Regions from separate parts of the Homo sapiens genome. Here region 1 is linked to region 2. The links are contacts of gene promoters, found by promoter capture Hi-C in blood cells and fetal thymus (Javierre and others, 2016). All regions are on one chromosome and are shown on one strand. The core of a region is centred on a gene start or on the middle of the fragment in contact, and the rest is flanking DNA. Distances in the headings are between cores, read along the strand shown. Region 1 overlaps TTC34 (tetratricopeptide repeat domain 34). Region 2 holds the start of PANK4 (pantothenate kinase 4 (inactive)).

The links. The method cuts DNA at HindIII sites, captures the fragments that hold promoters and counts their contacts. A CHiCAGO score of 5 or more calls a contact.
Region 1: a contact is called between a fragment that was not itself captured here and the fragment with the promoter of PANK4 in region 2, in 2 of 17 cell types (activated CD4 T cells and total CD8 T cells). The highest score is 5.6, in activated CD4 T cells.

Annotation. Positions count from the first base shown.
Region 1 is chr1:2,636,495-2,640,794 of GRCh38, reverse strand. It overlaps TTC34 (tetratricopeptide repeat domain 34), which reads left to right. Exons shown (of 9, transcript NM_001242672.3): 9 at 1-3,809. MMEL1-AS1 (MMEL1 antisense RNA 1) reads right to left here. Exons shown (of 3, transcript NR_183343.1): 3 at 4,175-4,300. Among named protein-coding and RNA genes, the nearest start is that of MMEL1, 5.6 kb to the right of the region's middle. RefSeq lists a silencer at 2,558-2,758. The HindIII fragment of the contact is 158 bases long and covers 2,710-2,867 here.
Region 2 is chr1:2,524,401-2,528,731 of GRCh38, reverse strand. It overlaps PANK4 (pantothenate kinase 4 (inactive)), which reads left to right and starts at 2,136. Exons shown (of 19, transcript NM_018216.4): 1 at 2,136-2,268. The coding sequence starts at 2,145. RefSeq lists enhancers at 1-667, 1,389-2,109. The HindIII fragment of the contact is 7,457 bases long and covers 1,739-4,331 here.

The sequences.
Region 1 (4,300 bases), core at 1,539-4,038, 110 kb before region 2:
CTGGGATCCTACAGGTTGGACAGGTTTGAGGCCAGACTCCTGGGGCCCTTGGGGAGATGGTACCAGCCCCAGAAGCCCCTCCCTGGGTGTGAAGCTGCGTTTTGCTTGGACCCTGAGCCTTGGGCCAGCCTCCAGTAGAGCCTGAGCCCTCTCCAGAGACAGAGCTCCCAAATGGGCCCAGCCAGCCCATACCCCAAGCTGACCTTTCAGGGTGCTTTCATGGGGGCCCTTCATCGAGAATCCAGTGTGCTGGGGGTAAACTTCCTCCCTCCTCCACAGGCCCCTCCCTTCCAAGCAGAGGGACCACCGAGGGGCCCTGATGAGCACAGTCCCCAGGCTCCCACCAGACCTGTCTCCCGAAGCTGCTGGGAGGTATCAGTGCTTCCACAGAGCGAGAGAACAGCTTGTTCTTATACGTGCGTTAAATGTCCCCAGGCCTTGCAGCTGCCAGTGAGCTTGGGGACTTCTGGGTGGGGCAGAGGCAGCCAGCCTTTGCCCATCACTGTGAGTGTCACAGACTGAGGCCTCAGCCCGGGGCTTTCTCTCATGGCCATGGGCGAGAGACATGCTGGGTGAGCTGACTCGGTGCAAAACGTGCCCCCAAGCCCTGCCTGACTTCACCCTGGGGAGACAGGGCCACGACCCCCCCTCCTGGCTTCTCTCTCCTCCTGGGCACTTGCATTTGTCCCATTTCTGTCCCCTTCTCTGCCGCTTCCTTCCATGGTCTTGAACCCACAGATAGACCCCCTGCCTCTCCACCCACTTCGCTTCTGGGATCATCTGACGAACCCCAGTCCAGGGGGTCAGGCAGGGAGGGGCCCTATTCCTCGCCCTGCATGGAAGTGGGGCCCCCAGGCGGCAGGTGCAGGGCTGGGTAGCCCCCCTCCTCCTCAGGCCTCACCCACTCCTCAACCCCCATGCACCTTCATCAGCTGGCACCGCCTATGTGTCTCTGGCCACAGGGGTCTGGGTAAAGGGTCAGTGCCTCCCACCTTGAGTACCTCGGGGATGGGCAGCCCACAGTGGGAGAGGGCCCTGACAGGGACCTTCAGCCCCGCTCCTCGCCTTCCCCGCTCGGAATCTTCACGCAGTCCCCCTCTTCCGGGGTTCCCCAGCGCAGGCACCAATTTGATCCATCTTCCGCCTGCCAGCTCCCCATCCACCCTTCCCTCCCTGTCTTCACCCGTGTGCTCAAGGACTCAACAAACACCTGTCAGCAGCCCAAGAGCTAAGTTCAGGGACACGCAAGTTCCTCGGGTCAGGTGGGCCAGTCGGCACTGAGGCAGAGGAGGCAAGGGCTGGTCCAGAGAGCCTGGTCACAGCAGAAGGGCCTGCTCCAATGTCGGGGCCAGGTGGAGGCAGTGGGGAGGCGTCCCCTAGGGGTGCCCTTCCCCACCACGTTCCCTGCTCCTACCGTCCTCCTCGCCTGGGATGTCCTGCCCCATCCATCCGTGCAAGGCTGAGTGTAGATGCCAGCCCCGCTGAGGCTCCTCCTGGACCTCAGGATCGCTGTGTTTCTCCCCCACCAGGGGGCTGCCCCCTCTACCACCAGCTCACCCAGCAGGTATCTCTCATCAGCCTTTGGCCTGGCTCCTTGCTGGGCTCTGAATGTCTGCATTCCCCCAAACTTTATGTGTTGCGATCCTAACCCCCAAGGTTATGGTATCAGAAGTGGGGCTTTTGGGAGATGACCAGGGGTGGAACCTCATGAGTGGGATTAGTGTCCTTATAAAAGAGACCCCAGAGTTCTCCCAAGCCCCTCCACCATGTGGAGACCCAGTGAGAAGCTGTCTGTGAACCAGGAAGGGATCCTCACTAGAGAGCGAGCTGGCACCTTCATCTTGGGCTTCCAGCCTCCAGAACTGTGAGAAATAAGTATCTGTTGATGAACCACCTGTCTCTGCTATTCTGTTGGGGCAGTCCAGATAGACAAAGACATGCCCGTTCCCGCGGCCCACCACCTCTGCCCTGAGCACAGTGGGTGAGTCTCGGTTCCCCTTATCCCATCCCTGCTGGGGTCCAGCCCTGGCTTTTCCTGAGGTAGTTTCTCCAGGACCAAGCAGACACCCACAACCAGCAGCCCTTAAGGCATGGACGCACTCGTCCCTGAGGCCTGGGTGTCCCGCCTGGAGGGGCATGTCCACAGCTGCTCTGGGTCCTGACGCTCCAGGAGCTCACGCTGTCTGCAGATCCACCACTTCCCTGGGCAGTCCCCGGCCTGCGTCTTCCTCAGTGCTCAGCTGGAGGTGGAGAGAAATCAGGCTGGGACGGAGGGTGGCCCTTGCTTTGCACGATTCCTGCCTCGACGTTACACCAGGGACATTCCAGCATCTCCCCTTCATTAACTGTAGACCGCCAGCAAATCCAGATTTCATTCAACCAAGTAAACTGGTAGAGTCATTTCCAGCAGCTAATGTGAGCTAGCGCATTAAATTCAGAATCTCTAGTAAGTGTACCTGCATCAATAAAGCCAAGCCGGTCCAGCTGCATTAATACCCTACCCTCCATTCCCACACGGTTCCCAGGTCTCCGTGTGTGAATTTGTAACATCTTACGAGCATTTTGGTGTGAAAGTGGTTCCTTCCTGAGTCAGGCTTTGTACTTGACCCTTCCCCTCCCTGGGAGTACACTGAGGTTCTAGAGGCAACAGGGTGGCTATGGTGGTTAAATAAAATGAGCATCATTTCTAGGCACCTGGCCAGGTAAGCTTATCACAGCATTTTCAAGCAGAACAAAAAAAATAAATAAAGGCTACTCTCAGATCTTGGAGGACAAGCTGCTTCCCCTGGAAGGAGAGGCTCAGAGAACCAGGGGGTTCACAATTCTCAGCTTCATCTGAGCCCAACCAGACATCCCCATGCCAAGCTTCAGCATCCAGTTCCTTCCCACTCAGTGCCCACGTTTCAGTAGTGAGGCTGTGAGTGTGAGCCACACAGCAGTCACACAACTCAGAGTTAAACTGTGCATCCGAGTTGTAGCAGCAGCAGCCCCGAGGCTCTCAGGAACAAGGGACTCTTCCATGGCCATGGCAGTCCTGATTCTCTGTCTATGACTTAAACTGAGTTTAGAGACCTGAACGTGTGGTTCCTTCCTGTTAGTGCTGCTGGACACTCAGGGGACCCCCCACAGCCCTCGTGGTTGTGGTCATCCTCGTGGCCGTGACAGCCTCACACAGCAGCACGTGGGTTCCCGAGGCCCTCAATTCTGCTGGTGCCTCACAGCCAGCATGGGGGATGGCTTGGTTAACTGTGAAGCTCCCCCAACAACACTGTGGGCCAACAGCCTCCCCTTCCCACTGGCCAGGAGATCGGCCTGCAGCCCAGCCCAAGCAACAACCACACTAACCTAATCCCCGGACCCCACCTTTTGATAGTGACAGGAGGCAGACAAATCCTAGGCAGACAGGGACAGGTTCCCAGTGAAACCCCACCTCCGAGCCAAAGACAGTTTAAAGCCTGAAAGCCAAGCTACAAATTAAATCCTCAGCCTGGATTGAGAACCCATCTTCCCATTTGGCTGCTTTCCTCTGATTGATCCCCACCCTTCACCTATTTTACATGTACCTATCTTTTCCTAATTCATTTTCTACACTGGCATGCCCACCTTTGAGTGGTACCTTTGTTTAAGCCTTTTTTGCATAATCAGAAGCCAATCAGCATGCACTCCCCCATTCTGAGCCCATAAATGCCCCGGACCCAGCCACACTAGGAGAGAAACCACCTGACTTCAGGTCGGGAACCACCCGTGCATCCCCTCTCTGCTGAGAGCTGTTCCGTCTCTCAATAAAATTCTTCTCTGCCCTTCTCACACTTCGATTGGCAGCATCTCCTCATTCTTCTTGGACACGGGACAAGAACTTGGGAACTGCCATACATGGGTACAAGCTATAACACAAGCAGGCTGGAACATGCCCAGCCCAGCCACAGGCTGAGCTGGTGAACAGCCAGGTGTGGCCCAGGCAGGCTGAGTGGGTGGGCCACCTCCTGCGGCAGGTAGCATGGCCAAGAGAGGCCTGGGGAGGGGGGGTGTCAGCAGCCAGAGGTACCTGGCTGGCAAAGTGACCAAAGAGGTACCTGACTGTGTCACTTTGAGGGCCTGTCTCTGGGGACCCCCTCCTAGTATGAATTTATGTATCAGTTGGGGTCTACTTGGGAGATGGAAACCACAACAGTGATTCTAATAGCATGAATTTAATGTGCAGAATTTTTCATTAGTTCTGGGTAAAAACAGCTCTAGGGAATCATGGAGGTTGCAACCACAAAATTCAGAGAGGTGACCTGGCTGGCGACACTGGTGATAA
Region 2 (4,331 bases), core at 887-3,386:
GCTGTGCCTCACGCCTGTCCTTGGCAGCCATGGAGCGGGTCTGCAGGGGTGAAGGGGAATGGGCAGGGCCATGGTAGCAGTTAAGCAGGGAGGGACCCCTGCCAGTGGCCCCCTGGACCCCGGAAGAAGGGTGGGGTCCTTGCTCCGGAAGAACAGGGGGAGGGAGGGATGGAGGGAAAGCAGGTGAGGGGCAGGGGCAGGGGGAGGTGGGCTGGAGGGGTGGACATGGTCGGAGCCCTGGGTCTCCCCCCGCCCAGGCCTTTCACTAGCTTCCGGAAGGTAGGGGTGGGGCAAGGTGACAGCGCAGGACCTTAGGCTGTGTCCACTGAGAGGCGACCCAGGGCCACAGCCCGCAGTAGATCTGTTGCTACAGCCAAAGGGGCTTGGCCCTGGGCCAAACAGGAGAAAACATTTGCCCCGAGTTGCTGCTGCACACTCCCACGGCCTGCAGCGCCAGTCCTGGCATGGGCTCCGGGGACACCTGCCCGCTGGCCACCGTGCCAAGGCAGGATCTGGCAGTCCTGGCAGGAGCCTGCACGGGGCCATCCCTTGCCTCAGAAAGGGCATGTATTTTTAGGCAGGCCACAGGGTGTTGGCTGAGTCTGCAAGAACTGAGGCCTGTGGCTCCCAGGGACCAGCTCCCAAGGGGCAAAATCCATCCAGCAAGGATTGGGCCGGAGTGGGCCGCATTCCCACCCCCGCTGAATGGTAGCCCCGTGTGTGGGCCTGCCCTGCCTGCTCCTTCCTGCTCAGCCCCTCTCGCTCCGCTCAGCCTTCAGCCCCTTTCTGGCTACTCCACAGGCAGTCTAGACAGGGTCCCCCCACCAGACCAACCCAGTGCCTGCCAGTGGTCCCTACCGAGCCCCGGGGTATGGTGGGCAGAGGACAGGGAAGGCCCCCATTCACCTGCATGTTTCCCGCATGTTCAGTGGGCACACAGGTGGGCGCCCCTCATGGAGGGCACCTCCTGCCAGCCTGGCCCATGGCACACCATGCTGCCAGGGGTCTGAGCTGCCAGAGGTCTAAGCCGCCTGGGGTGTGCTCCACTCTTCCACCCAGGCCTCCCTGGGGCAGGCTCCCCCTCCAGAGCCACACACCCACCCCCTTGGAAGACACAGGCAAGGATGCCTCCTCCCTGAAGGCTTGCCCTGCGCACACAGATGCATTATCCCTGGAGTTTGTGCCGCCCCACAGGCCTGTGCTCCCAGGAGCCCTGCCAGGCAGCTGGTGGCATTCTCCACGTGCAGACAGAGGCTGAGGGCCAGAGACATGCAGTAATGACCCCGGGTTACCCGGGAGGGGCTGATCTGTCTGCTTCCAACACTGGGCTTTTTCCCAAGGCGCCCAGAGCCTCTGGAGAAGACGCATCTCTTCATGCCAGCAGGGCTTCCCAGCCACTCACCCTGGAACCCTGGCCTGCCCCACCTATACCCCTGTCCTGGCTCCAGCTGCTTCCAAGGCTTGTTCCTGCAGCCTCCCAGGCACCTGTCTTGCCCACAGGCAGCCTGCCTGGCTTCCCCCGACCACAGCACTTTCCACGGATCGCCATTACAGCACACATCTTCCCTACCCGCAGGTGCATGCCAGGCTGGGGCTCCTCCCAGGTGGGGCAGGGTTCCCCACTCCTCTGGTTTGCATGGGACTTTTAACATTGAAAGTCCCACGCCCCTGGGAAGCCAGGATTGAGTCACCCTAGCAAAGAGCGCATCACATTCGCCCTGGCGTGCAGGGCCAAGCTTACAGCAGGCACTCGCTGAAGGGCAGGGCTCTCTGACAGTCTGCAGACCCACGTGCCCCCTTAGAAGCAGGTGGGCGGCCTCTGCGGCCTCCCTCAGCAGGGCTCAGAGCACTTGAGTTAAGCCTGTGGACAGCGCGGTAAAAGAACATCAGTCCAGATGTTCTGTGCTGATGCGCGATCTCTGGAGGATAACCGCCCGCCCGCCCGCAGCCCCGGGCCTCTCGGACCCCTGCCCAGCACTGGCCCTAGCTCGCCCTGTAGCGGCCGAGACCTCAGAGGCCGGGGGTGGGGGAGGGAAGGGGCGGGGCCGGCGCCTCATTAACATAATCTATGCGAGGGGGCGTTTGGCAGTCAAATATATGCGCATATATCTCCATGGCTGATGAGCTGGCCGGGCACTTTCAAAATGGCGGAGTGTGGAGCGAGCGGCAGCGGGAGCAGCGGGGACAGTCTGGACAAGAGCATCACGCTGCCCCCCGACGAGATCTTCCGCAACCTGGAGAACGCCAAGCGCTTCGCCATCGACATAGGTAGCCGCAGGCCGGGCGCCGGGCGCGGGCTGCGGGGGCGGGCGGGGCGCCGGCGGTGGGCCGGCGAGCGGGGGCGGCGGGAAGGACGAAGGGCGGGGGCGCGGGCCTCGCGCACAGCCTCACGGGCCTTGTAGTCCGCGGGCCCGCGCACAGCCTCACGGGCCTTGTAGTCCGCAGGGTCGCTGATGCGCGGGCTCGGGGCGACGGCCGGACTACAGCTACCGGCAGGCGCCGCAGGGACCAGAGCGGGGCCTGCCGGGCCTGGTAGTTCGCGCGGCCGTCCTGGGTGGCTGGGGGCCGGGGTCCAGCGTTACCCGCCGCGAGGTGGGAGGGTCGGCGGAATTTTATGTCTTCGGCCACATCGGCATCTGGGCGCCCCGGCTCCGCCGCTTGGCTGGTGGCTGGCCTGAGATTTGGGGTCCTTAGTTCTGGTCGAGACGAGGACGAGCTCGGCGGGAAGCCCTTGGCAGAGTGGCCCCGAAAAGGCCGCGCGTTCCCGCGGCGTGGCCAGCTGTGGCCCGCGGGCCGGACAGTCCGTGCACAGGCCCCGCTCTCTGGAGAGTGGACGCCGGGCGTGAGTTCAGGCGGCCGTGGACGTGGGACCTGGGAACTCGTGCCTCTGGTTTAAAAGCCACCCGTGCCTTCCGTGGCCTTTAAGGCGGCCTGCACTTCTGCCCTGGCCTCTCCAGGGTCCGCTGCAGACCCTCCTGCCTGATGGCTGTGCTCTCAGTAATGACGGCGGGCCAGGCTCTGTTCTAGACCTTTTTCCCACGCTCCTGACTCCCGGACACCTCCCAGCCACCTCTAGGGGAGGAACGCGAATTACTCCCTTTTCGCAGATGAGGATACCAAGCCCCAGAAAGGTGAACTAATTTGCCCAGGGTCATCGGGCTAGAAAGTGGCAGAACCAGGATTTGAACCAGCCACTCCCTGCTCTCCTACTCTGCCCATGTTTCAGGCATGAGGGCTTCCTGGGGGCAGCTTCACCTGGAGAAACCCCCCTTGAATAGCCGCTGCGGCTTCACATACCTCTCCCTCTTAGCACTCATCTCGGTCGTAGGCTGAGTCTGCTTGTGTGTGAATCCCACAAGAGCAGCGGTGTGTCTTGTAGCCCCAGCCCCCGAAAAGGATGCCCAACCTGTCTTTGCCGCCCAGTAAATACTGGGATGAATGGGCCTGCCGCTGACTGCTTCCCACCTCCCTGGAAAAGCTGGGACTCAGAGAGACCCAGGCCATTCCCTCTGAGCTGTGTGCTCCTGGTGCATCTGACATGTTTGCTGCTGTGGTGTCCTCGGGGTTGTTGGTGTCATCATCTCTCTGAGATGTCCAGCCAGGGAAGGGTGTCCTCTAGGGAAGTGGGGGGCGATGAGAATGGAAGTAGCTATAGGTCCTGGCTCCCACCTTTCAGTGAGCTTATGGGAGGCAATGCTTCTTAGGGGGTGTGGCCTGGTGCCAGGTATGAGAACGTGTGAGTAGCATCTTTAGGGACCGCTGATAGGACTTGGGACTGACTGGTTATTGGGCTGCAGGTGCTGAGCTTGCAGCCCTAGCCTAGGGGATTGTCTACCGCAGGCCTCACCAGAGGCTCCCCAGCCATGCTTCCCAGCCTTCTGAGACCTTGAGGCCCGGTAGAGCGTGTGCTCTGCAAGGTTCTGCTGCCCTTACACTGGGGGATTCTGTTACTGGAAGCAAGTCGGGATTAAATGTTTCTGAAATGCAATTGCAGTTGACCTGCATAAGTCACTTGGGGAATGGCCAGGAGAACAGGGCTCACCGTGGATGTTCTGTGTGGCCCCGAGAGGCCAGTGAAGCCGCAGAGCTGGGGCTGTCCAGGAAGGGCTGTCGCAGCCCTAGAGGGCCCTGGAGTACCAGCCTGTTCTCCAGGCTGAGCCCAGGGGGTTTCTTGGTAGAAGGATACTCTAAGAGGTCTGTTTAGTGCTGGTATTTATTTCCCCTCTTCAAAGTTTCTCCCTGCGTCTGGGTCCTGTGTCTCTGGTTCTTAAGAGGACCTGTTGACTGATACTGAGAGACCTTTTGTTTGTTACTCCTGACCGAGCTGCTGG